Regions from separate parts of the Homo sapiens genome. Here regions 1, 2, 3, 4, 6 and 7 are each linked to region 5. The links are contacts of gene promoters, found by promoter capture Hi-C in human tissues and cell types (Jung and others, 2019). All regions are on one chromosome and are shown on one strand. Each heading gives the region's core, a stretch centred on a gene start or on the middle of the fragment in contact. The rest is flanking DNA. Distances are from core to core; before and after follow the strand shown.

Region 1 (4,034 bases), core at 83-2,582, 680 kb before region 5:
AAAAAAGACAAAAATTAGCCAGGCATGGTTAATTCTTTGGGCTGAAGAAATGATGGTTGGGCATCCAGATCCATTTAGTATCTTCTGTTCTGTTCTGTTTTTTTTTTTTTTTTTTTTTTTGAGGTGGAGTTTCGCTCTTGTTGCCCAGGCTGGAGTGCAATGGCATGATCTTGGCTCACTGCACTCTCGCCTCCCTGGTTCAATTGATTCTCCTGTCTCAGCCGCCTGAGTAGCTGGGATTACATGCACCCACCACCATGCCCGGCTAATTTTTTTTTTTGTATTTTTAGGAGAGACGGAGTTTCACCATGTTAGCCAGGCTGGTCAACTCCTGACCGCAAGTGACCCACCTTCCTCAGCCTCCCAAAGTGCTGGGATTACAGGCCTGAGCCACCATGCCCAGCCAGTTCTGGTTTTTTAATGGTTTTTTTCCAGCTACTCAGAGGCTGAGGTGGGAAGATCACTTGGGCCTGGGAGGGAGGGTGAGGCTGCAGTTAGCCGTGATTGCATCACTGCACTCTAACCTGGGTGACAGAGTGAGACCCTATCTCAAAAAAAAAAAAACAACAAAGATCTTTGTTTTAACACCATCAGTTTCCATTTTATTCTTTGTTTCTTAATAACCATCTAAAGATTTCCACCCTGCCTTTGAATCTCTCCCTTTTACCTTTCCTGTTTTCTTGTCAACCTAATGTTTTTATTAGCATCTGTAAGACTCATGAGAAGCTGAGACAGCAAGTTTAATAAGGCTTCTTGAACGGTTTATTGATTCTGCAGGAGTACCATCACATGGGGTGCCCATGTAGAAGGAACCCCCTTAACCATAGCATTTACTGTGATCTGGGTAACAGGCATATTCAGCAGGTGAATATCCCTGTCATCACATAGCCAGTCTCACAAGGCTTGCATACAAAGCATATTAGCTGCCCCATCTGGGGTGTTACACTTGGCATTTATAGATGATGTTAGGCAGTCCCCATTTTTGGGGGTAAACAGACCTTACAGTGGCATTTATCCAGTCCACCTGGCTGGCCGTTCCCTCAGGAATAATCTCCCGTGTGTCTGGATTATATATCCCCACCCACGATTGTTCACTAGTGAGCTGTGGGTCCTGCATCAACCCAAACATGCTCTTCCACTCTGTAGCATTTAAAACCAAAGATACTGCCCCTAAATTAATCACTTTCATAGTCCACTTTAGCAAAGGTTCCCCAGGAAACTGATGATACCAGTCTATAAGATGGAACAATTCCTTAGCACTACACCCTTTGGTTTCAGTAGTTACTTGGTTTTGCCCTTCCCCCACATTGACTACCTTCTTGGTAACCACAGGACTTAGAAATATTTTCTGTTGTCCCTGCATAATTCTCTGCTTTGTGGGTGACTTTGAGGCTGGTGGCCTGAGCTCGCACCCACATTTTGAGCTGGGTCCAGCCTCAAGTCCTTATCCAGCACCCTCTTGTACTTTCATTTTAGCCATTATAGATAACAGTGACCAAGGGATTGAATTTTGGATTGAATATTTCACTTTTTTCTTTTTAGTTTGCATTTCCTTATGTATCCAATGAACCAACTCTTGGAGTTGGATCTATCCGTAAATTCCACTGGTAACTTTAACCTTTAGTAACTGATCTCAACACAGCTGCAGCTTCATACCATTGGTGAGCACATGATCAAAGATTCCTCATTCCCCACCCTTTTATCCTTTTTCTTCCCAAACCACACGATTCCGTGAGTCAGGGCCTTTCCAGCAAATCCTGCTTCACTAAGTATGTAGGGAAAACTCTCTCTCTTACACCACAGCAATCATTAACTTCTGTGAGCAAATGTGTGGGGGTTTCTTCCCCGACACCAAGCAGCAGACACCAGCTGGGTGTTCTCTAATTCAGTTCCAACACTCTCTACCCAGAGATAGTGTCAGATCCCAGAGGTTGAGGGCTCAGTCCCCAAGACTGCCCCTACCCCAGCAGTCACAGTCCAGGCCTCAGGAACTTCTGACTGACCAGCTTCAAGTTAGGATTCCCTCGACCCCCTCTTTAGGTTCAGTTAATTTGGGGTGACTCACAGAACTCAGGGAAACACTTAACATTTATTGGTTTATGGTATTGAAAGTGACTTGTTTTTTATATAGACTTTTTTTTTTTTATAGAGCAGTTTTAGGTTAACAGCAAAATTGATCTGAAGGTACAGAGTTTCCACGTCCCTCTACCCCCACACATCAACTTGTAGCCTCCCCCACTACATTGTTACAGTCAAGGACGATTTTTTAAAAGCCAAACACTGCCCTTCAGGACTGTTACTGTGGGAAACTGTTAGTCCAAAAGTGCTGTCCATTGCTCAAAACTTTTTGTAAACTCCCATTAGTGCTAACTTTAGAATCAGTTTTTGTTCACAGAGGGAGTAACATTTTTTGTCACAGGCTTTTTTTTTTTTTTTTTTGGCCAGACATAATATAGTTTAGTCACAGACTTATCCATCAGATTAGGTTTTGAATGACCTATTAGCTATTTATACACATTTAATTTTCCTCTAAAGGTTAAGTTTTAGTCCCACTTGAGGTTGTTCAAAAAGGTGCTCTGTGGACCAGGCATATGACATTTTCTATATTTTGTTGTCATTATTTGTTTATATGGTTGTTGTTGCAGGCTTCTTAGTAGGTGAACCAACTAGGTTTGATTCAGTTGTCTGTCCTCTACACCTGTAACTCTTTTTACTTAATAAAGCCATCAGGTCCACATGCAGAACCCACTGACTCGTTTTACACAATATTTTTACATTTTATACAATTTTTATTTAGTTTAATAAATACATAGAACCTAGTGTATACTAGAATTGTCCTGTGTACTTTACAAAAGTAACTCATTTAATCCTCATAATAACCCTAGAAGGTAGGTGCTGTTATAACTGTTTTATTCTATAATTGAGACACAGAAAGGTTAAGTAGTATCTGGCTGCTCAATAAATGATGAATGGAGGGAAATTTCCCACAGTTACTGATTTAAAGGATACAACACATATTTGAATGCTTAAGCTCTTACATGATTGATTGGAAAATGGATCCTATTATTCTGTGATCCGATCTTGTATACTTAGCTTTTCACCTTGCCAGAGGGCTTTAGTCTTCTCTGTTATCAGACGTGAGTGCTTTACTTTGGTGGTAGTCTTTGAGTATTTTGATATGTGATATGAGCACTTCCATTGCAGAGAGAGTGGACTCCAGAGATTGTCATTTCAGGACACTTTGATGGTGTCCAAGACCTAGTCTGGGATCCAGAAGGAGAATTTATTATCACTGTTGGTACTGATCAGACAACTAGACTTTTTGCTCCATGGAAGAGAAAAGACCAATCACAGGTAAAATGTCTTATTTATTTATTTATTTTTTCTTGGGACAGAGTTTCACATCACCCAGGCTGAAGTGCAATGGCACGATCTCAGCTCACTGCAGCCTCCGCCACCCAGGTTCAAGCGATTCTCCTGTCTCAGCCTCCCGAGTAGCTGGGATTATAGGTGCCCACCACCACACCCATCTTCTTTTTGTATTTTTAGTAGAGATGGGGTTTCACCATGTTGGCCAGACTGGTCTCGAACTCCTGACCTCAGGTGATGCACCGCCCCTCCCCCCCCCCCGCCTCCCAAAGTGCTGGGTTATAGGCATGAGCCACTGCAGCCGGCCTCTTCTTATTTTACTAATGTGTTTAAAAGAAAACATCCATGAACACAAGAAAAGTAGGGCAGCCACGCTAGCCATTAGGAAAATGCAAATTAGAACCATGATGAGATACCACCACACACCCTCTTGAATAGCTAAAGTAAAAAATATATTAACAAGTGCTGGTAAGGATGCAGAGCAACTGGAACTTTCATACATTGCTATTGGGGATGCAGAATGATACAGCCACTCTGGAAAACAGTTGGACATTTTATTTTTTGTTTTTTGTAGAGACAGGATCTTGCTATGTTGCTCAGGCTGGCCTTGAACTCCTGGCCTCAAGTGATCCTCCTGCCTCAGCCTCCCAAGTAACTAAGACTAC
Region 2 (3,983 bases), core at 796-3,295, 800 kb before region 5:
AGTCTCAACTTCAAAGTGATGCCACCTACTTGGTACAAAAAAGTCTAAATATCTCAAATCATTTCCACATCTTCTACAAAGGAATAACATAGTTCTAAGTGATAATTTACAAAGAGTTCTGTGGAATAACTTTCAAGTTTATTTCTGTACTTGTAAAGAGTATTTACTTGTTAAAAAACAGCTGAACATAATTGAGGTGATTTCTTCTTTATAATATAAAATCCAGTTATGCAGAAGAACAACAAAAAAAGTTCCTAGAAGGCTTTATTTCAAGACAGTGATTACCTCTGAGAAGAGAGGGAGCAGAAAAAGTTGGAAAAAATAGGACTTTAGCATTTGCTTTAATCTTAGATTTAAGTAAAAACAGGAAGCAATGTGTCTTTTTGATGAAGTGCACTGGCTCTGGAGGCAGATTCTCTGCGTTCCAAACAACTCACTAGCTCTTTGTGACCTTAGGCAAGTTACTTAATCTTCCTGTGCCTCAGTTCTGTATCTATCAAATGTGGATAATACATCCTGCTGTGTAAGATTAAATGAGTTGCTTATGTGAAGTGCCTAGAATAGTACCTGACACATGAATGTTAACATTATTATTATCATCAGCCTCATAATCTATGACTGTCAACTATGAAATGTGGCTGGAAGGCACTGGGGGAAAAGGGGGTTGTGGGGAGTGGCATCTGATCTATTTTCTACAGTTACACTTCAAATATAAATTCTGTTTTTGTAAACAGTGACAAATGACCATCATCATAAGTGAGAAAGTATAAAGCAGAATAAAGTTACAGTCTTCTCTTCAATTTTCAAAAACATGAGACAATACAGGCTTCAGGGTTTGATATTTATTTTTAGCAGGAAGAATATACTAATGGTGACGACATCGTTAGAAGATACGCCCATGTCCAATATCTGCAACAGAAGCTCAATAGAAGTTAAAGAAACCATACTAAAAGACTAAAGACAAAAATTGTATGACATTACTTACCCTTAATTCTGTGGACAATAAAACAATTAACACTATGTTTAAAATTGAGGTTTCATCACAAGGTGAAATAGTGGCAAGTTAATTATCAAATTCATCTTTTAAAAAAAAAAACCATCTTTTCCTTTCCATGTAGAAGTGGGCAACCTCTTCAAAGGTATAGTGGCCACCAACTATCATCATCTGAGGGTATTTATACGAGCAGAGAAGGAGTAAATTGCAAAGGAGTAGTGCTAACTTGAGAGCTGGGAATTTGAGGTGGGAATAATTAAGTAGCAGCTCCCATGGGTAGCAATGGCAATCTAATCTAAGCACCATTTTTGGCACAATTAGAGACTGCTGAATCAATAACTAAACACTAATAAAAATAACTTAATGGGGTAGTACCATGACATTCCTACAAATTTACAGTGAGCTTTCTGTAAATAAAGGGATTCAAATTAGAAATTCTCCTACATATTATTACAATAAGAAATTGCCACAGCAATACAATTTAAACAAGAACTCATCAACTGAAAGATTTTTTTTACATAAAACCAAATCTGGCTCATGTATCCCTAACAATTGCTACTCTAATCAAAGGAAATACGAGCATTTTTTAAAATCACCTCCTGTACTCCCAGATTTCTCATTAGCGGTATTAATTATTACTTAATTTACAGGAGCAATGAATTTCTGCCTAAGAGTGTGAGCCGGGAGTGGGGCTGGAACATGTAAGCATTAGAATTGGCGGGTGGAATTAAGGGAGTAATTTAAAGACTTAATGGTATACCTAAAAGACTACATCTTCTCAAAACAGAAACTAAATAAATCCTACTACAAGTGACTGCCACCTGCTATTTTCCTATTATTTCTGTGATACATTAGGGTTAAACTGGTAAGATAAATTATAGTTGCATGGAATTTCACAAGAATAATTTTTAAATGCAATCAATTTTGCTAATTCCAAATTTCTAAGTTTACTTGCAAGATTAATTTGGTTCAAGTAGAAGAAAAACCATTAATACAAGGAGAAGCTTACCTGGGCTACTGCTTAAAAAGGTCTATGTTAAAAAATGCAAAATGTGCACATAGATTAAAATATTTTAAAATTCCTAACAAAAAGAGAATTAAATAAATAAGCACTAAAGAAGAAAAAGGTTACGCACTTCCAATTTATGCTCTTTCTCTGCAAGGGCTTCCTTTTGACAACGAAGAAAATCTGCTAACATTCGAGTGAGTTGCTTTCTATCATCTATTTCTGCCGCCAATCTGCCATTGTAATCTGCCAGCAACATACACGCATCCTCTACCATTTTGGAAAGCCTTTCTCCAGATTCTTTATCTAAGAAAAGCACGGGATAATAAAATATTATACAACAAAAACAATGACATATGCTGTTCTCTCATCCCAACTCCCAAAAAAGTTCTGGATCACATTTTCTTTTCTTACCTGTTATTTTATCTAATAGAGATACTTCTTGGACTTCAACAGGTAAAGAAGCTATCCTCTGATGAACTGCTGCATCACCTGAGGCTGCATTTTCCAGATCTTGTAATGCTCTAACGAGATCTAGAGTCTAAAAAGTACACAACTTCAGAACCAAAATAAATTGAGCTTAAACAAGTGCAAAAGACTTTAATTTCATATTCTTTCATCCCTATGGGCTATTTACTAGTACAAAGCTCCTAATATAAACTGCTTTTGAAGACAATCAATTTCTTTCATATGTTAAGAAAAAAGGAGGCTATACTATGTTAGGTGTTGAAAATATAAACAGGACAAGGCCCTAGACCTTGAAGAGAGCTTACTCCAGTGGTGGAGACAGAGTAATAATAATTATTTGAGTACTAAAATGAGGTAATGAGGATTTATATGGCAAATACATCAGTGGTGAAAGAGAAGGTAGGCTATAACATCAACCTAGAGAATACAAGTTTTATGTATGATATATTCATTACATTATCATTGTACACTAGAAGTTTTTTTAGTATTAAATTGGATATTATGGAAAGAGGGTTACAAATCATCTACTACAACACAGAAGAGTCTCCCAGATTTCATTTCTAAATGCTGTAATTAAAGCCCAAGAGAAATGTAGTTCTAGAATATGTTCAAATATGATATCTTCAAGTATCCTATGGCTTGTTAATAAGATTAAAATATTTCAAAATTCCATAATCTGATGACTAATATATATTGCTTAACCAGTACTGAAATTATTTTATCATTAAAATATTTTACTTCCACTGTTTTCATACAAGCTATAATTAGGAGGGAAGCGCAACTCTTTGCTGGTGATTTCACAACTCATAATGTCTATAAAGTTATTCCAAAGAAAAACAATTAAATTTTATTTTTACTAGTTTCCATTCTCCAGCCCATCTTTTTCATCTTTCTTTCTTAATTTCTAATACTAGATTCAGAAACACTAGGAAATTACACATATGCTTTAAAAAATATAGGATATTAGTAATTCTGTGTATATATTAAGATTTTTAAACTATTCCCTTGAAAAAAAGGGTAGCACATGACAAATGATCAAATGTGGTAGGAATGAATGAAACTAATAAGAAATATACTATCCTACGTGTGCTCACTCATTAGAAGTGTTTAAAATTTCAGTATTTTAAAAAATAATTTTGTTGTAAGATATATCCCCTCTACAATTAAGGTGTGCTTAAGAGTAACAACAATTACCAGAAAGCTTGTTTCTCATCTTGCCACAACTAATATATTATTTTTAAAATCATTCTTAGAAAATTCTAATTGTCTGGAGTTCTAAGAAGAAATCTGGCTTTATTGTCTTGGCAATGCATTGATGCTTTAATTACAACCTGATCTCATCACACCTTCACAGTCCTACATGAGTACATTCTAAGTTCCCAATGCCTGATCAAGCATCAGATAAGAAAGCAAAGTTGTCTGAAACAATACTAAGCCTACTACTTCCTACCAGAGGAGAATGAAATGAGTTTAACGGGAACCTACAAAGAGATTTTAGCCATTCTTATAAAGAAT
Region 3 (3,705 bases), core at 1,076-3,575, 640 kb before region 5:
CAGCACCCCTGTGGACTGGTGGTTTGTTAGTTGGCTGTAGAACTCCTTGAGGAGAGGTTCTCCTTACATTTCCAGGGAAATGACCTAGGCCCTCCCTCCTCAGAGTGCCATTCGTGAATGGGGCATCAGCATCACCTGGGCTACTTAGAAACACAGAACCTCAAAGAGTCAGAACCTGCCTTTGAATAGGCTCTCTAGGGGATTCATGCAAATGAATGCCTGGAAACCCTGGCCTAGGGGAGACTCTCACCAGGAAGCAGGGCTTTAAAAGGATGGGTGAGGAGTGACACACTGAACAGCTGCTGGGAGGACCAACTCACCCCTCTCAACTTAGATGGGGAAACTGAGGCCCTGGGAACCACGGTGGCTCACACCAGAGAGTTAGCAAAACACACTTCCCTGCCTGGGCTCTGGAGACTGACTTCCCAGGTGCTAGCTTGTCTTCTAGCTGTGTGCCCGTGTGCAAGTTATTCTGCCTCTCTCTGCCTCAGCTTCCCCATCTGTAAGAGCCACCTCCTAGATCTGCATATTTAATCATTGAACGACCAGGACAGGTAAGAGTGTACACAGTGCAGTGCCTGGCACACAGTGAGGCCCTGTAACTAGCTCTTGTTATTAGTGCTGCCCAAAGCCACATTCACAGAAGACAGTCCAGTATCCAAAGTGCCTGCTTGAAGCATGGCCAGAAGGCAAGCAGATGGTGGGGTGGGCAGTGATGTCAATGAGCAAATGCCTGCATCCATCCATCAGTACATTAACTCCTCCTCGAACAACTATGGGTGTTTGTCGAGTAAGGTCCTGGACATTCAGCAGTGAGGGAGAGAGCGGGGGTGGTCAGTGGGCAGAGGCCACTGAGGAATATGGGTACCTGGGCATGGACCCTAGCGCTGCAGTCCACAGACCCCTGGGTCTCCGGCCAGGGGGAAATGAGCTCTTAGTGGCGGGTCTTTCTCTGGCCTGGTATCAGGGGCCTGGGCGGGAGAGCCAGGGCTGCGTGCTGCCTTCCCATGGCTCTCACGCTGGGCACCGGTATGCATCATGCATCAGCAAGGATCCTAGGGCATCTGCGGCCCATACCCTGGGTGGCAGCTGGCCTGGATGCAGCACAGGTTGAGCTCTTGGGGCATAGGCCTCCTTCCCACCTTGTCCCCCCGCTGTATGCCTCCAGGGCCTGTGGGCCGCCTGCACCTGGTCGCCGGCCTTGGGTTCTCCACCGAGCCTGCCTCTGAGTTATCTCCCCTGAGCCCCAGCACCTGCCGCCCATCCGCACTGTCCACCATCCCTGACATTCGATTCCCCCACGAGGCACCTCGCCTGTGCGTGCAGTACCTGTTTTGCTTCCACCCCATTCCCAGCAGCGGGTTCCGCACCTGGGATCGCACGTGAGATTTCCCCCCACCCCCCAACCGCATGCCTGGGCTCTACTACCTGCACCTGCCGCCCCACCCCTGCATCCCGCTCCGCACTTCCCGCGCATAGGTTTGGCCAGGCCCTCCCTATTGAGGCACCTGTTCTCCAAGACAGAGCCGCTGTGTCCCAGGTGCTCTGGGTGCAGGCGCGAGTGGGGATTGAAGGAGGCGCTCTTATTCCACTCTGTCCGGGACAGGGGCGGCTTTGTCCTAGGGCACTCTTGCTTTAATAGAGAGGGCCCGGCCACACCCACGTGCGGGAAGTGCGGGGCGGGATGCAGGGTTGGGGAGGCAAGGGCAGGAAGTAGGGCCCAGGACGCGGTTGGGAGGGCGGGGAAGCTCAGCTCACTTGGATCCCAGCTGCAGGGCCCGCTCCGGGGGAAGCCCCCGAGCTTCCCGGTTCCGAAAGTGTGCAGCCACTGAGAATTTATTAGCCTCGTGGATCCCTAATCTTTCCCCTTTTCTACCCTTTGGTCAGCCGCATTCTAACAAACGGCAAGCACACGCCCCGCTGGGTAGCAGCAACCCGAGAACGCCCCCACCCCCGCCCCCGCCAGACGCCGGTTCCCGCTTGAGAGGGTGAGGGTCCCGAGACCCCTGCGAGGAGGAGGGTCGCGGGGTTCCAGGATGCCGATGCCAAGCAGGAAAGATCACCTCGTTGCTTCTTCCACCGGCCTCTCCGCGAGACATAGCTAAACTTGAACTTGGCATTCCAAGGGTCTGGAAACATCTTCGTGGGACCCATCGAGAGGTTGTTTAAAGACTGGCACCCGCTCCCGCGCCCAGGTGGGGAAAGGGCTGGCCAGAAGTGAAAGTCCGGTCGGGGCGCCACACCTAGGCTGCGGATTCCGAGAGACTGGGAGGCTGGAGGCCTGGGAGGCGTGGCGGGGGCGGAGTCGCCGGGGGCCGGCTTCGCGCACTTCCCGGGCCCGGCCGGCCTGGATGGACTAGCCGGGGCCATGGCCGGCGCGGCGGCGGAGTCAGGGCGGGAGCTGTGGACCTTCGCGGGTTCCCGGGACCCGAGCGCACCGCGGCTAGCCTACGGCTACGGCCCGGGCAGCCTGCGCGAGCTGCGGGCGCGCGAGTTCAGCCGCCTGGCAGGTGAGGCGGGCGGGCAGGCTTGGGGGACACGAGGTTTCTGGAACCGACGTGGACGGATCTTTTGCTCCTAGTGAGAGCGGCGCTACCTCATTCGGGCGCATTTTGAATCGAAACTCCAGGAGGGACGTGTCCACGCGTCCTCCTAGTAGACACGGCTCCCTGAGGTCCCACCTGCAGCCCCAAGGCTTCTTGCTACTCTTACTCTTCCGACTTTCCGGTGGGCAGGACCAACCTAGCCGTCTTCCCCTTTTCCCGCCCTCCGCGAGCGGGGCTTAGGATGGTTCTTGCCCTCTCTTGCGGGAGACCCCTCACTGTAAAGGGCCTGCTGGGGCCGGGGTTGCAAAAGACAGCATGTCCAGCGGCCGTGACCCTTCGGATGTCCTCCCGAGGTAGGAGCGGTGCGTGGACCGCCAGCGCCCGGGCTGGGACAGCACCTCTGACGGCGCGCCAGGTTGGGACCGGGAGGCCAAGGCCTCTTGGCCGGGGCCTCCCGAGGCTGCGCTCTGCAGACTCCTCTGGGATAGCCTGTATTCAGCTTTGATTTTCGAAACCTCATTTTCCTTACTCTTACAGCGTCAGAACAATCCCTCTGAGCTCCAGTTCTCTGGGGGACTAGAAGAATTAGCAAACAGTGCAATTTCACCTTTAAGAACAGGGCGAGCCTGTGAATTAGACAACACCAAGATCACATCGTGCCTTTCCTCAGAGCGGAACAGGCTGATGAAATTGCAAATCAAGCTCCATCTGGCCTTGGCCGACCCAGCCCTCTGCTGCCAGGGCCCAAGTTCGTGACTCATCCCTCTGCCAGGGACTTTGGGTGCAGGGCTTCATCAAGCCCCAGGGCCGCGTGCCGGATGGTCAAGGAGGGTGTGCAGGTGAAGTGGGCACGTCTTGGCACAGGGCACCGGGGTTTGAGTGTATCTGCTCTGTCGCGATGAACAACTGGTGACTGCTCCCCTTCTGGGGGCAGAACAGCAACCATGACTTAGGTTTCACTACTCGGGTAGCTGATTTCAGCGCTTCGGGTCACTTCCTGGTGTTGTGGAGGGTAACTGTGTTTTCCCTTTGGGGGCTGTGAGAACTGTGGCCTCCTCCTGTGTGTCTCCTCTGGCTTCCTAAGTAGGGAGAGTCAGGAGGGAGACGGGGGTGCCTTCTGCCAACCTCTCTATTCACTCCTCATCCTTCCCTCTCGCAG
Region 4 (3,685 bases), core at 873-3,372, 740 kb before region 5:
AACCAAAAAAGACCCTGCAAAGCCAAAGCAAGACTAAGCAAAAAGAACAAATCTACAGGCATCACATTACCTGTCTTCCAACTATACTACAAGGCTATAGTTACCAAAACAGCATGACACTAGTATAAAAATAGGCAAGTAGACCAATGAAACAGAATAGAGAACCCAGAAATAAAGCTAAATATTTATAGCCAACTAATCTTCAACAAAGCAAACCAAAATATAAAGTGGGGAAAGGACACCCTATTCAATAAATGGCACTGGGATAATTGGGAAGCTACATGAGGAAGAATGAAGCTGGTTCTTCGTCTCTCACCTTATACAAAAAAATCAACTCAAGATGGATCAAAAACTTCAATCTAAGACCTGAAATCATAAAAATTCTAGAAGATAACATCGGGAAAACTTATACACATTTGCTTAGGCAAAGAGTTCACGACCAAGAATCCAAAAACAAATACAACAAAAACAAAGATAAATAGATGGTAATGGCAGATGCAGGCCATCTAGAGTGGCCGCTGCTGTCACATGGGCTACAGAGGGGGGGCGCGGGTGGTAGCGGCAGGAGCAGCTGCAAAAGCAGCAACAGCAGCAGTGGGTCCCCTGTGCCCAGTGTTCCTGAGGCAGCCAACTGCACTGCCCCCACCCTTGCATGGCCAGGCAAGACCTATTCCAGGCCCAGAGGCTCTGCCACTCTGGACCCTGGCCCTGCGTCACTGCTGTCACCTACTGCCATTGCAGGGAAGGCCTGATGAGGTGGCAGAGCTGGGCCTGAGGCCAGCTAGAATCAGGGACCAGCGGGAGCTCCCTGGAGCCTGCCATGATAGGCTGCTATGATGGGGCTGGGTGGAGCCCCCCGCTGTGGGGGAGCAGCACAGTTGGGCATGGAGGGGTGGGCAGAGAGGGGCCCAGCGAGGACCTGGAGCTGCCACCCCAGGCTGCATGGAGGCACAGCTGGGGATGCCTGCATGCTCCATGGTGCAAGCAGGAGGCCCACCCTCCCAGGAGCAGGACTCAAGCTCTCGCACTCTGCACCCTAGATGCCATGGATGGTGGCAGGAGGGAGACAGGCTTCTGGGTGAAAAAGGGTGGATCCCTAGTGAGACCCCACCTTCAGGCCAGGGAGGGCTTGAAGGCTGGGGGCTGGGCTGCGAGTCCTGAGCGCCGGAATGAAAACTTGTGGTGTCTTTTTTCTGGGCCCATCCATGGCCACCCATGGACCAATCAGCACACACTTCCTCCCCTCTGAGGCCCATAAAAGCCCCGGGGTCAGCCAGAGCTGGACAGATGACAAGACGACCAGCTGCAGAGGGGAGGTACCCTCTCTGCTGGGAGCTGAACACTTGTTGGGATGACCTGCCTGCAGAGAGGAGCTACCCTCTCTGCTAAAAGCTGAACATTTGACAGGACACCCTGGATGCAGAAAGGAGCTGCTCCCTGCGGGGCTCCTCTGAATTGTCCTATTGCTCATAAAGCTCCTTTTCATCTTGCTCACCCTTCACTTACCTGCATACCTCATTCTTCCTGGTTGCAGGACAACAACTTGGAACTTGCTGAATGTCAAGGGTAAAAAAGCTGTAGCACAAACAGGACTGAAGCATGCCTCTTGCTCACCGTGTTGTAGGCAAAGAGAAGGAGAGAAGAGCTGCAGCCCTTCGGGGAGCCCATACCTGGGAGCTCCCTGAGCCATAACTATGACTGCCTCTTTGGGGCTCTGTGGTTTCTGGCATCTCCAAGCTTCCGGGTATCACCACGTTCCCCACTGCCAGCCATGGAAGCTGCTTGCAGTGAGCCTGGTCTGGCCACAGCCTCGCAGAGAGCTGGTGCCCATGCCAGCATGTGGAGCCGCCTGCCCCGCTGTAGCAGCTGGCATGTCTGACTGTACACAGTGGCCAGACCCCATGCTTGCTCACATACCCCTCACTGTTCCATGCCTGACTCACCCTTAGCAGACATGGGATCCGGGCCTTTGGGAGGCATGTGATCCAGGCCGGTAGTGTGAGCTGAGCGCAGCCTACCAGGCTGAGTGGGCAAAATGAGCCTAGTGAGTTTGAGCAAAACTTGGGCAAAGGTGCCACCAGCCACAGAGGTTTCTAGCCAAAAAGCAACACTCCAATGATTCCATAACAATGGGACCTAATTAAACTAAAAAGCTTCTGCACAGCAAAAGAAATAATCAGCAGAAGGCTGGACACGGTGGCTCACTCCTGTAATCCCGGCACTTTGGGAGGCCAAGGTAGGTGGATCATTTGAGGTCAGGAGTTTGAGACCAGCCTGGCCAATATGACGAAGCCCCGTCTCTACTAAAACTCCAAAAATTAACAGGGTGTGGTGGCTCATGCCTGTAGTCCCAGCTCCTTGGCAGGCTAAGGCATGAGAATCGCTTGACCCCAGGAGACTAAGGTTGCAGTGAGCTGAGATTGTGCCACCACTGCACTCCAGTCTGGTTGACAGAGTGAGACTGTCAAAAAAAAAAAAAAAAAAAAAAAAGAAGAAGAAGAAAAGAAATAATCAGCAGAGTAAAAAGATAACTCACAGAGTGGGAGAGAATATTAGCAAACTATACATCCAACAAAGGACTGATATCCAGAATCTACAAGAAACTCAAACAAATCATCAAGAAAAAAAATAATAATCCCTTCAAAGAGTGGGCAAAGGACATGAACAGCCAAGTCTCAAAAGAAGATATGCAAATGGCCAACAAACATATAAAAAATGCTCAATATCACTAATTATCAGGGAAATGCAAATCAAAACCACAATGTGAAACCACCTTACTTCTGCAAGAATGACAATAATTTAAATATCAAAAAATAACAGATGGTATCGTGGATGTGGTGAAAAGGGAACACTTTCACACTGCTTGTGGGAATGTAAACTAGTACAATCACTATGGAAAACTGTATGGAGATTCCTTGAAGAACTAAAAGTAGAACTGCTATTTGATCCAGCAATCCCACTACTGGGTACCTACCCAGAGAAAAAGAAGTCATTACATGAAAAAGACACTTGCACAAGCATGTTTATAGCAGCACGATTTACAATTGTAAAAATATGGAATCAGCCTAAACGCCCACTAACTGAGTAGATAAAGAAAATGTGGCATTCTACTCAGCCATAAAAAGCAATGAAGTAATGGCATCTGCAGCAACCTGGATAAAGTTGGAGACCATTATTCTAAGGGAAGTAATTCAGGGTTGGAAAACCAAATATCATATGTTTTCACTTGTAAGAGGGAGCTAAGCTATGAGGACACAAAAGCGTAAGAATGATATAATGGACTTTGGGGACTGTTGGGGGAAGGTCAGGAAGGGAGGGTGAAGGATGAAAGGCTACACATTGGGAGCCGGGCATGGTGGCTGCTTGGCACGGTGGCTAATGCCTGTAATCCCAGAACTTTGGGAGGCCAAGGCAGACAGATCACTTGAGGCCAGGAGTTCGAGATCAGCCTGGCCAACATGGTGAAACCTCATCTCTACTAAAAATACAAAAATTAGCCAGGCGTGGTGACAGGTGCCTATAATCCCAGCTACTTGGGAGGCTGAGGCAGGAGAATCGCTTCAACCTGGGAGGCGGAGGTTGCAATAAGCCAAGATTATGCCACTGCACTCCAGCCTGGGTGACAAAGTGAGCCCTTGTCTCAAAAACAAAAACAAAAACAAAAAACCCGATGGCTACACATTGT
Region 5 (3,571 bases), core at 630-3,129:
CTCCCCAGTAGCTGGAACTAAAGACATGGGCCACCATGCCCAGCTATTAATTGATTTTCATATGTTAAAACCACTCATTCCTAAATCACACTTGGTCTTGGACTTCTATTAAAAGAGACACAAATTTTAAAAATCAACCAAACAAATACATAATTTCAAGTAGTGAAAGTGCTATAAGAATAAAAGAAAAAGCAGGGTAAGGAAAGAGAGAGCAAGAAAGACGGCGGTTATTCGAACTATATTCAGGGAAGGTTTCTCTGAAATAATGACATTTGATCAGAGATCTGAATGACCTGAAGAAGCGAGACATTCAGAGAAAGATAATTCCAGGTGCAAGGACTAGCAAACTGCAAAAGCCCTGAAGCAGGAACCCGCTTAGTGTGTTTAAGGTACAGCTAGAAGGCCATGTGGGCAAGAGTGGAAACAAAGTCAGAAAGAGATGAGAGCAGATCTTACAGGGACTTGTGGGTCATGGTACAGACATTTGGATTTTATTATAATTGTGATGGGAAGGCACTGAAGCATGCTTTTCAGCCTTCTTAAAAGACCTTTCTCCTCCTTAGTTTTCTGGCTAACTCCTATATGTCTTTCAAAATCTAGCATCATCTCCTCTGTGACATGTTCTTTAACTTCCCTGGTAAGATCAGTCCCCTCCTCTGTGACATCTCTGAGTAACAGATTACTGACCTCTTTTCACACTCCTAGTGACCTCATTTGTTTATTTTTTTCACAGAACTGTGTCTTTTTCATATTTTTAACCTCACGTCTAACATAGTGGTGAGTACTAAAGAAACGTTTGATAGGCCAGGCGCGGTGGCTCACGCCTGTAATTCCAGCACTTTGGGAGGTCGAGGCGGGTGGATCACCTGAGGTCAGGAGTTCGAGACCAGCCTGGCCAACATGGTGGAACCCTGTCTCTACTAAAAATACAAAAAAATAGCTGGGCGAGGCAGGAGAATTGCTTGAACCCAGGAGGCGCAGGTTGCAGTGAGCCGAGATCGCGCCATTGCACTCCAGCCTGGGCAACAAGAGCAAAACTCTGTCTCAAAATACAAACAAGCAAGCAAACAAAGAAATGTTCGATAAAAGAAAAACTCTGAGTCATTCAGTGGTGCAAGGTTGGATTCCTTTCAGACCCGACGTAGTTGTCGCCCTGGGAGGTCGGGTGCATTACTTCCCCCAGAGAAAGGTCTTGGGTTTCGGGGATAATGCCCTGGCTGAGAATGCCTCCTAGGGGGAGATCCAACTTCCCAACCGTCAGGTGCTTGCTGTGTTCCCTTTGCACGTCTCTGCCCGTCCTTCCTGGGTGGGACCTTGGTTGGCGGTGAGTGGGGGAAACTTCAGGCTTCCCAGCTCTGCCTCCGAACACTCCTGGCAAACACTTTCAAGGCCTAATCACAAACCCAGGTCCCCCACTTTCCTCTGTAACAACGGAAGTCCCAGCAGCGATGTCCACTCCTGTTCTGGGGCCAGCGTCGCACCGCTCACCCCGCACCTCATCCCTCCGCTCCTCCTTCCTTCTCCTCCACACCCTCTCGGCACCGTGCCCCCTTTCCTCACCTAGGATGCGCGTGATGCCCAGGGTCAGCTTCTCCAGGTGCGGCTTGCTGCAGCCCAGCCCCGGGGACGATGCCTCCTCCTCCATGGCTCGCGACCGCGATTCGCGCGCGGCGGGAGCGGGTGGAGGGCCGGACCCCGCCTCAGCGCCGAGGCCAATTTCATGGCATGCCGGGAACGGTAGTTCTCGGCGCCTGAAAGCGCGGCGCAGTGATGATGGGGGCCCGGGGTTGGTCTGACAGCAGCAGCTCCGTGGGGCGCCGGTTCCCGCGGCCCCGCCCGGTGCCCCACACCGCACCTCCGGGACGTAGCTTCCCCTTCGCCCCCACCCTCTCGCCCCGCAGGGGCCGGCCGCGCAGGCGGGGGCGGGCCTCTGCGTGGTGCGGCCAATGGGGACCGAGCCTGCAGGCCGAGGCGTGGCGGCCCAGGCGCGACGCCCCGAGTGGCGGTTGTTTCAAGATGGCGGACGTGGCGGGCCCCTCCCGCCCCAGTGCCGCGGCGTTCTGGAGCCGGGACTGTATCCTTTGCCCGCCTGACAGGGGGCGCCGGCGCCCTCCACGGGACGGCGAGGGGCGAGCCGTCGCGTGGCAGTCCGAGAGCGGAGGAGAAGCTCCGAACTAACCCCGGGGATGGGGACGTGCTGCTCGGCCCCAGTCTAGGTGCTGGGCTCTCCCCTTGCTTGGGTGTTAGGTGGCCGAGAGACTGGTACTGTCTGCAGGTGTGGGGACACGGCTCAGATGCTTCCCAGCGCTCACTACCGGTGAGCTCGAGAAAGATAGCCTTGAGTCCAGGCTCAGTCCAGGGCTGAGATGGCCCTCCGAGGTCCCTCTGCCCACCCTGTCAGAGTGCCCCCAGGCTGACTTGAGTGTGCGGAGCTAGCTCGAAGTTGAGGGAGGAGTCGGTGTTGGCTGGACAGGGAGCCTTTTTGTTTTGATTTAGGATTGTCTTTAGTCTGCATTGCTAGGAGCAAGTCAGGACCTTTCGGACTTAAAAGGCCCTCCAGTGATGATGTATTTTAATACTGGGGTTTTAGGAGAGGTGTGGAGCTTGGTTACTGGGATGTGGTCTGGTGGTGCTGGTTACTGCGTAAGATGGGAATCATTGTGCCTGGAAGTATTGTTGACTTACTTGTGGAGTGCGGGTCACTGGCAGTCATTGAAGTTCTTGGATCGTTGTGAGGTGGAGAAGCAGTGGAACTTTTTAGTCCAGTGGTAGTATTACCAGTTCAGCAGCAGTGATGAGATGTTTGTGTGACAGGAGTGTTTCTTTCCTTGGAGTAGGTAGACTCTTCTCGCTTGAGCTTTGGTCCTGATAATTTACTTCACGTTCCTTAGAGGGGTTACTTGAAAGAGGGACGGCAATCTGTGTTACTGAGTGCTTGCAGAGGCAGCTCTTTTTGTGTTTGCTAGGATTGGTGATGGCATTAATTGAGGCGTTGCTGTTACCTTTGGCAGAATCACTGGGCATTCTTCTTAGCTCCCAGTGAAACTTACAAAACTGTGTTATCAACTCCTTTGTTGAGTTACTAGGATTAGTGTCATGTGTAGAGAGAGGGATATGTTTGTATTCTGTGCTGCTCGTGTTTAGTGTTTGCACTTACTAGACATAATTACCATTTGTCTCTGATAGGTTGGTGAAAAGCAAATGAAATCATGTACATACACTGTGGATGAAAGCATACTAGTGCAGTGTGCAAATTAAATATTTTTTCCTTTACCTTTCAGAAGAGAATATGTGCACTGTGGACAACTGGGCTGAATTAGGAAGTTAGGAAATTGGGATAAGTCTTTTCTCAAGAAACACTGCTTCTGCATTGACATAATTTTGTGATGGAGGAGATACTTGAAGGTTATTAGCTTATAGCATCCTATGGTACTGTTCAAATATAGAATCAATGGTTTGGGGGGGGGACAAGCTATTGCAATGGGACTGAATAAGTGTATTAATAGATATATGGACTGAACCTAAGCTCTTGGTCTTCGCACCCAGTACTTTCACTTACTCATGTAGTTAT
Region 6 (4,066 bases), core at 694-3,193, 720 kb before region 5:
CCAAGGCAAAGAGTGGTCAGGGCCTTACATTCTCGACATATCTGGAAAGTGCAGGTACTCTCAGGGTCCAAGGCAAATTGCCTTTCCTAACGTGGTTTTCATATCAAGGTTACACTAACCTCAATTAACATGAGCTTTCTCTTTTAAATCCCAGAAACTATTTGGATAAATGAGGGATTTATGTCTTGAAGTTTTGGTCAAACACTGTAAACTGGGCCTATGTTTGGGGTGGAGAAGGGGAGAATTTTGATGTAATAATTTTTTTTTTCTTGAGTGAACATTTTGTATTTTCCCAGAAAGCTAATCTGTATCAAAAAGTTCTCAAATGTATAGGCTGATTTTTTATAATTGCTTGAATCTACTCTATTTATATCTCCTTTTTCATTGAAGATATTTCTATTTGTGACTTTTTTTGCCAGTCTGACAAGTTATGTTCCCTCCCAAAAATCAGCCTTTGGTCCACATTCTACAGCTTTTGCATTTTCCTCTCATCTCCATCCTCTGACACAGAGTGATGGGGACTATCTGAATCTTCCATATACCCGTTAACAGGTTCCAGCTGGAGTGGGAACCATAGTTCCTATTTCATCCTGTTTTTGTGGGCTGGTCCAGCACACCTTCTACCTTCAGAATTTCTGTGAAAGAAGGGACAAGTCTCTGTGCTCACCACACTCCTAGAGGTGCATTTCCAGTTATTAAAAGAACTTCCTCACCTTGCACTGATCTAGCAGTGGCACTATGGTAGGTCTGTGAGTTTCTGAAGCAGAGTAATCTATTCAACCAAAGGGGATGCTTAATTTCATCTGTGCAGGCACCCCCAACCAGGTAATTCTGATACCCATCCCCTTCGCTTGGTCTGAGAAACAGAAATGTTGGTGACGTGGTCTCTCAGTAAGCCCTAGATGAAGGGGGGATGGTATTGTCCACTTGTTACTGATTGTAGTGAATGCTTATAATTTTATGTGGCCTTGGCACTCATTGGGAATATAAGTTGGACTTTCCCATACAGAAGCAGAGCTCAGTCACCCTTGACACAGTTTCCAGTTCTATGTCTCCCAGTTCCTCAATGTGGTCCATCCAGATGGCTGCCTTATACAGCTGCTCACTGTCAACCACTTTGCTATGGCACAGCTAGATGCAGCTTGCCTGTCTGGCCTCATTGACCCTCACATGGGCTGTGTGGATATGTCACAGTGACCACCTCTCAGTCACAGAGTGGTCTCCTGGAACTTATGCCTGCTTGCTTTCAACCTAATTGAAACTCCTCAAGGGAAACTTGTTTGAATAATGCCCTGGACCCAATAAAGGCACTGGCCCATATGTCCCTCTCTTTCCCTGCCTGCATTCTCTGACCTCCATGTGTGTGGCCTCCAGATGTGCCATGTACTTCCCAGGACCTATAAATAATAATACCTGGAGTCTCTCTCAAGCATTGAGTCTCATCACAAGCTCTCCATCGTAAAAATCTTGAATTAAAACACTGACTCTCTTGAGAGTGTAGAATATTAATAATGCTTCTTCTACAGCTTTAGGTCCAGTTGTTAAAAAAAAAAAAAAAAAGAGAGACACCCGAAAACAAACTGTGGACCAATATTTTTTGAAGTGTCCTTTGTGATAAACAATTTAAAAATTGAATAAGGCCACCCAATACAATATTATAAATGAATTGATTAGTATACTACAATCCAGATGATAATTTAAAAATTCAGATAGCTCAATTTTTTAGGAACAGAAAGTAGAATGGTGGTTACCAGGGGCTAAGGGAAAATGGGGAGTTGGCGTTGAGTGGGTATAGAGTTTCAGTGTTGCAGGATGAAGAAGTTCTGGAGATTCATTGCACAACATGAATATACTTAAAACTACTGAACTCTACAGTTAAAAATGGTTCCAATGGTAAAAAAAATTTTTTTTTAAAAAGAAAACCAGACATCTGACGTCAAGCTGATATAAGGAATTTATTGTGTAAAAAAGAAACATCTAGAGAATGCCACAGACAGGCCTAGTATGGCTACAGTACCGTATATAAAAGACAATTGCTCACAATGATAGCACTGAAGCACTGAGAGATATCAAAGTACTTTCTGAATCGAATCAAATGATACTTAGTGTAGTTTTAATATCCTCATATATATCAAAGTTTTACTACTCTGATAATTTTGTAAACCAGGTAACCAGAACATCCAGTCATACAGCTTTTGGTGATATATAACTTGGCAATAACCCAGTCTGGTGATACATAAAACTACTCACTGTACTCATCTGGTATATACCCGCACGAACATTTTGAAATTCCAATTTCTTGGTCAAGTGATATATTGCTTGAATTCATTAAATATATTTAGATTTCTGTATTATACAAAGTTAAATGTACAACTAAATTAGTATATGAAAAGTGCTCACTACGTTTTTACGGGAAATAATCCTGACAAAAATGTTTAATGAATGTACTCTATACTAATTCTGCCTTTTTATACTTAATTCTAAATTTCTCCCCTCTAATTTACAACAAATTTTGTGATTTTTATAAGAATCTATGCCTCCCCAATTCTCAGATTCTTCTCTTTTCTCCTTTATTTCTTTGCTTAAATTCAGTATAAGCTTTCTTGGTATTTTAGGCTTCATGCACATTCTTATTCCTAAACACCAGCAGTTCTTCAGAGACCTAAAATCCAGTATAGGAATAACTGTGTTAGTTCTTGAAAAAGCATTAAAGACATTTTTCCCTGAAACATACAGAACATGTCATGCCAAATCTCTTGTTTACATAATAAACTGGTAATACCGGTGAATTGCACATACAGATTTTATCTCCAAGATAGAATAACTTAAATATTAAAACGTACCTTTAACTGACTTTGTAACAGACAGCAATATTCAATACAAAAATCACAAAACCCACTAACTTTAAACGCTGCATAGTACAGCATACAAACTCATCTCCCTATGACCTACTGAAACTATGACAACTTTTTAAGCTACTCTAGCATTTAAACCTTAACTAGAAATTTATACGAAACACGATTTTATGTTCAAATATGGAAATAAGTAACATAATTCCAAAACCCAAAAGCATCCCAGCATTCTGTAAAAAGAAATACCCCCAGCGGCTACATCCATGGTCACTAGCATCATTGTGCAGCATTTCAGGTACCTTTAAAAAAAAGTAAGGGAAAATAAGAGTGACATTTAAGTTTTTAGAACTACAGATTAGTTTTTAGAAAAATTTATAGGACAGTATACTAGCTTTATTTGTAGCTAGATATACTGTGAGTTAATTCCTTAAAACATGATTACATACATACTGACTCTAGCTAACAATGTCACACAGCATTTCCTAGCAGTTTAACAATGATTACTCATGATGTTCTGGGCAAGAAAAAGTTTGTATTGGTTCCAGTTTCCACTGGAAAATGAAAAGCGATATTGATTTTCCTACTTCAGTTACTGGCTGCATATCTGAACTGGATATAACATGTAGTTTGTCTTTAGTTCAGAGATAGAAAACCTTATACTATATAAGATACATATTGTCTTTGATTGCTTACAAAGTAAAAAATAAAAATAAAATAATAAAATACAATTTTAGCGGTAAGATTGGTTGGGATTGTTTTGAGGACATTAGTGACAAAAAGATATGACTCCTTTGTTGATTAATAAACTAAGCATTCTGAAGTATACAGCATGCCAACAATATGCATCTTGTCCTAGACTTCCTACAAATCTATAGAAAATTCACTGCCTGATTACTGAGATCATACCCTAAAATGATACATCAGAAGGATGTAGATATTTTTGTGAATCTGGACACATATTAAGCAAGATAAAGGTGTGATCAACAATCCAAAAAAAAAAAAAAAACTCTAAAGAACCTATATTCTTATATGCCACAAATTTCTGAATATAGAATCACTTCTCATAATGACTGCATTTAAAATCTTTTTTAAAAAAATGATTTTTTTTTTGAGACAGAGTCTTGCTCTGTTGTCCAGGCTGGAGTGCAGTAGTACAATCTCAGCTCACTGCAACCTCCATCTCCTGGGTTCAAGTGATTCTCCTGCCTCAGCCT
Region 7 (3,649 bases), core at 308-2,807, 760 kb before region 5:
AAATCTAGTAAAATGTAAAAGCAAAGCTAATTCCTGACTTTTCAAAGTTCACAGCTACTTTCCAGACCTTTATATCAGTGTTTCTGAAACCTTTCCGTCCACTCACAGAAGATGAATTCCTCATTCAGGGCCAATACACACATACTTACACATAAACTGAAAAACAAGGCTGTAAATCAATTTCTTCTCAAGGATGGGTGACGTTTTCATAACCACAAACAATATACAAGGACAGATTGTCTCCATTATATACAGCCAACATTTTGGCTCACATTTTGGCTGTTACGTACATACATCATATAGCTTTCACAAGGTTCAGTAAGCAAGCGTCTATTTTGATTAATAACGGTTAAAACCTTTAACACTTGATAAAAAACCATCATATCCATCAGGATGTTTGCAACAATAATGAAGAGTGTCCACTCTACCCAATGAATTAAGAATTAAAGTACAAGCTCAGACTAAGCAAATGAAATTTTTTATTTTCAGTCGCACTAGGATAATTTTTTACAAAGTTGCTCTGCATACATGAACTGATTCTGAATATTTTAGTGACAGACATCTCAAAAAAGTTTACTTCATTTACAGGAACACTATCAAATGTTTTGCAAAACAAAGACACTGCATTAGGGCATATAATCATAGAATAGGAAAGGACTTTAGGTGACTTACTCTAAATCTCTCCTTTTCAGGTAAGGCATCTGCAACGCAGAAGTTATAAGAAACTTGCCCAATTGAGACCCTCTAAAATCTACAAATTCAGAGTCTTTTCCACTGCATTACCCATCTTCTTATATTAGACTTCTAAAACTATTCCTCTATTAATTTCACAAGAATAAGTTGCTGCGTTACAGAAATGACGGAAGTAACTCCCAAACCCACACCAATCTTTTTCTTTCCACTCCCCTACCTTCTCCCTCCCTTATCCTCCATTATCATTCACAGAATGAAAAAAATACCTGACCACCTGAATTTCTGGCCCTAATTGGGTGTGGAGTCCCAACCCCCTGCTACTGTTTCCGTGTTAAGCTAACCGGAGTTTTCTTTTTTAATTATTCATTCCTTTATTCAATAAATATCTAAGCCCAGACTTTGCAGAAGCGTGGTGCACGCAGCTCCTCCAAGCCCGCAGACCACCGCGCGCTGGCATCCCGACGCCGGGAAGCCGGGGGCGCTGGAGAAACGGGGTTCCCGGGGGCGCCTGGAGGCCGGCCGGGTGGTGGGAAGCGGCCGACATAAGCGGTTGACTCACCTTTCCGCAGCTCCCGCTCCCACACGGTGACGATGGGACGCGAGTGTTTACGGTGGTGAATGAGCCACAGGGACAAGGTCTGCACGCTCTGCTGCGAGTTGCTCAACTCCGACAGCTTCTTCTCCAGCGCCGCCTCAGAGAAGGCTGACATCCCTCCGACACCACGTTCACGCCGTCCCACGCGGTGGGGCCGAGGGGAGGAGAGTTTCGCCGCCCTAGCTGCGGCCTCGCCCCCTCACCCCACCCTTCCCCACGCTCTCACCACGGCCGCCGCTTCATCCAAGACCGGCCGCAAACCAGCAAGATGGCGTCCGGCCGGCAGTGACGTCACAGGGACCCACGCCCCGCCCCTCCCGCTGCAAGCCCTGGGAAAACGCGCGGCCGAGAAGTGGAACCGCCAGGCGGAAGGGGCGGAGTCGAAACAAGTGCAGGGGAGGCGGACAGGGGCGTGATGCCTGGGTTACTCTCAGAGGCATGGTGGGAGTTTGCCAGGCCTGAACCCTCCTTAATGGAAACTCTGTCAAAGAAGCAGTGATTACAGATCTCTACATAGGCATGTAAACTGGTATAAATTGGGGCAGGCACTTTAAAGACTATTTGCATGACCAATTACGGTTAAAAATACACCTTCCTAAATAGAGTATAGGATGGTGACCAGAGGCTGGGAAGGGTAGTGGGGGAGGGCTAAATAGAAGGACTAATAGAAGGACTAAATATAAATAGGACCTAGTATTTGATAGCATGACAGGGGACTAGAGTCAGTAATAATTTAATTGTACATTTTAAAATAACTAAAAGGATAATTGGATTGTTTGTAACACAAAGGATAAATGCTTAAAGGGATGGATACCCAACTTTGCATAATGCGATTATTAGGCATTGCCATGCCTGTACCAAAATATCTTATGTACTCCATAAATATATACACCTACTATGTACCCACAAAAATGAAAAATGAATAAAAATTTAAAAATTATAAGAATACTCTTTCCTAGCAATTTCACTAATTGCTGTCAGTGCTGGAAAAAACACCAGCATGTTTGCACCAGGAAGCTTATTCTAGGTGTTCAGTCCAACACAGTAACAGTGAAAAATTGGAACATTCACTGTTGCAGTCTACACAGATACGTCTATATTCCATAATACATGCAGCAGTTTAAAATATGGATTAATCCAAGATATGGTGGATTTGGAAGGGTTTGAGTGGGTTTTTATGAGGTTCTTTTTGAGAGAGGGCCTCACTCTCACCCAGACTGGAGTTCAGTGCCATGATCACAGCTTACTGCAACCTCGAATTCCTGGGCTCAAGCATTCCTCCCACCTTGGCCTCCCAAAATGCTGGGATTACAGGTGTGAGCCACCATGCCCAGCTGGATTTTTTTTTAATTACAGAAGCAAAAGTATAGTATACCACTTCTTGTTTAAAGGTATGTAGTTCATATGGGTTCACAAGTACGTAAACTCATGGCAAAGGTTTGGAGGAATACACACCACATGAATACTGGTCTCAGGGAGAGGATCAGAATTGGAGCCCTTAAATTGTGTCCATATTGTTTTCATTTTTACAAAAAGAATACGTGAATATATTACTTATATAGTTAAAAATTAATTACAGAAATCTCATTGTTAATCTAATGCATACACCATCATATTCTAAAATTTTTTTTGAGACCGGGTCTTACTCTGTTGCCCAGGCTGGAGTATGTGGTTCAGTCATGTTCACTGCAGTCTCGACCTCTGGGCTCAAGCAATCCTCCTCTGTGTCGGCCTCCCAAAGTGCTGGGAATACAGTTGTAAGCCACCATGCCTGGCCCTAAATATTAATACAAGAAACTTCCAGAAAGATACATAAGAAACCATAGGAATTCCTAAACTATCTTTTGACAAGCATCGTTCAAGAACTTTGCGGCCAGATGTGTGGCTCATGTCTATAATCCCAGCACTCTGGGAGGCCGAGGTGGGAGGATTGCTTGAGCCCAGGAGTTAGACACCAACCTGGGTAACATAGTGAGTCCCTGTCTTTACTAAAAATTTAAAAATTAGCTGGGCATGGTGGTATGCGCCTATGGTCCCAGGAAGCTGAGGTAGGAGGATCACCTGAACCTGAGAGGCAGAGGTTGCCGTGAGTCATGATTGTGCCACTGCACTCCAGCCTGAGCAACAGAGCAAGACCCTGTCTCAAAAAATGAAAAGGAAGGGCAGGGCACGGTGGCTCAAGCCTGTAATCCCAGCACTTTGGGAGGCCGAGGTGGGTAGATCACCAGGTCAGGAGTTCGAGACCAGCCTGGCCAACATGGTGAAATCCCATCTCTACAAAAAGTACAAAAATTAGCTGGGCATGGTGGTGGGCACCTATAATCCCATCTACTCGGGAGGCTGAGGCAGGAGAATTGTTTG

The links. The method cuts DNA at HindIII sites, captures the fragments that hold promoters and counts their contacts. A contact is called where the count stands out against the background at its distance.
Region 1: a contact is called between a fragment that was not itself captured here and the fragment with the promoter of TPGS2 in region 5, in 1 of the 25 tissues and cell types used here (lymphoblastoid cells).
Region 2: a contact is called between a fragment that was not itself captured here and the fragment with the promoter of TPGS2 in region 5, in 1 of the 25 tissues and cell types used here (spleen).
Region 3: a contact is called between the fragment with the promoter of MOCOS here and the fragment with the promoter of TPGS2 in region 5, in 1 of the 25 tissues and cell types used here (IMR-90 fibroblasts).
Region 4: a contact is called between a fragment that was not itself captured here and the fragment with the promoter of TPGS2 in region 5, in 1 of the 25 tissues and cell types used here (spleen).
Region 6: a fragment that was not itself captured here is called in contact with the fragment with the promoter of TPGS2 in region 5 in 1 of the 25 tissues and cell types used here (bladder).
Region 7: the fragment with the promoter of RPRD1A here is called in contact with the fragment with the promoter of TPGS2 in region 5 in 1 of the 25 tissues and cell types used here (IMR-90 fibroblasts).

Annotation. Positions count from the first base shown.
Region 1 is chr18:36,151,646-36,155,679 of GRCh38, forward strand. It overlaps ELP2 (elongator acetyltransferase complex subunit 2), which reads left to right. Exons shown (of 22, transcript NM_018255.4): 12 at 3,205-3,354. Among named protein-coding and RNA genes, the nearest start is that of ELP2, 24 kb to the left of the region's middle. The HindIII fragment of the contact is 6,175 bases long and covers 1-4,034 here.
Region 2 is chr18:36,024,770-36,028,752 of GRCh38, forward strand. RPRD1A (regulation of nuclear pre-mRNA domain containing 1A) reads right to left here. Exons shown (of 7, transcript NM_018170.5): 5 at 2,415-2,541; 6 at 2,131-2,306. Among named protein-coding and RNA genes, the nearest start is that of RPRD1A, 41 kb to the right of the region's middle. RefSeq lists a silencer at 277-571. The HindIII fragment of the contact is 4,412 bases long and covers 1-3,983 here.
Region 3 is chr18:36,185,172-36,188,876 of GRCh38, forward strand. It overlaps MOCOS (molybdenum cofactor sulfurase), which reads left to right and starts at 2,326. Exons shown (of 15, transcript NM_017947.4): 1 at 2,326-2,510. The coding sequence starts at 2,369. COSMOC (cell fate and sterol metabolism associated divergent transcript of MOCOS) reads right to left here and starts at 2,264. Exons shown (of 2, transcript NR_134605.1): 1 at 2,064-2,264. RefSeq lists an enhancer at 548-1,370 and silencers at 2,130-2,393, 2,239-2,428. The HindIII fragment of the contact is 25,317 bases long and covers 1-3,705 here.
Region 4 is chr18:36,084,469-36,088,153 of GRCh38, forward strand. No RefSeq gene overlaps it. Among named protein-coding and RNA genes, the nearest start is that of RPRD1A, 19 kb to the left of the region's middle. RefSeq lists enhancers at 181-735, 1,844-2,397. The HindIII fragment of the contact is 5,618 bases long and covers 1-3,685 here.
Region 5 is chr18:36,827,123-36,830,693 of GRCh38, forward strand. It overlaps TPGS2 (tubulin polyglutamylase complex subunit 2), which reads right to left and starts at 1,880. Exons shown (of 7, transcript NM_015476.4): 1 at 1,561-1,880. The coding sequence starts at 1,645. KIAA1328 reads left to right here and starts at 2,005. Exons shown (of 10, transcript NM_020776.3): 1 at 2,005-2,074. The coding sequence starts at 2,017. RefSeq lists enhancers at 1,240-1,349, 1,450-2,242 and a silencer at 1,640-2,239. The HindIII fragment of the contact is 11,405 bases long and covers 1-3,571 here.
Region 6 is chr18:36,106,595-36,110,660 of GRCh38, forward strand. SLC39A6 (solute carrier family 39 member 6) reads right to left here. Exons shown (of 10, transcript NM_012319.4): 10 at 1,937-3,151. The coding sequence ends at 2,999. Among named protein-coding and RNA genes, the nearest start is that of SLC39A6, 21 kb to the right of the region's middle. The HindIII fragment of the contact is 4,534 bases long and covers 1-4,066 here.
Region 7 is chr18:36,066,002-36,069,650 of GRCh38, forward strand. RPRD1A (regulation of nuclear pre-mRNA domain containing 1A) reads right to left here and starts at 1,558. Exons shown (of 7, transcript NM_018170.5): 1 at 1,253-1,558. The coding sequence starts at 1,403. RefSeq lists enhancers at 1,258-1,397, 1,281-1,796, 1,508-1,737. The HindIII fragment of the contact is 14,008 bases long and covers 1-3,649 here.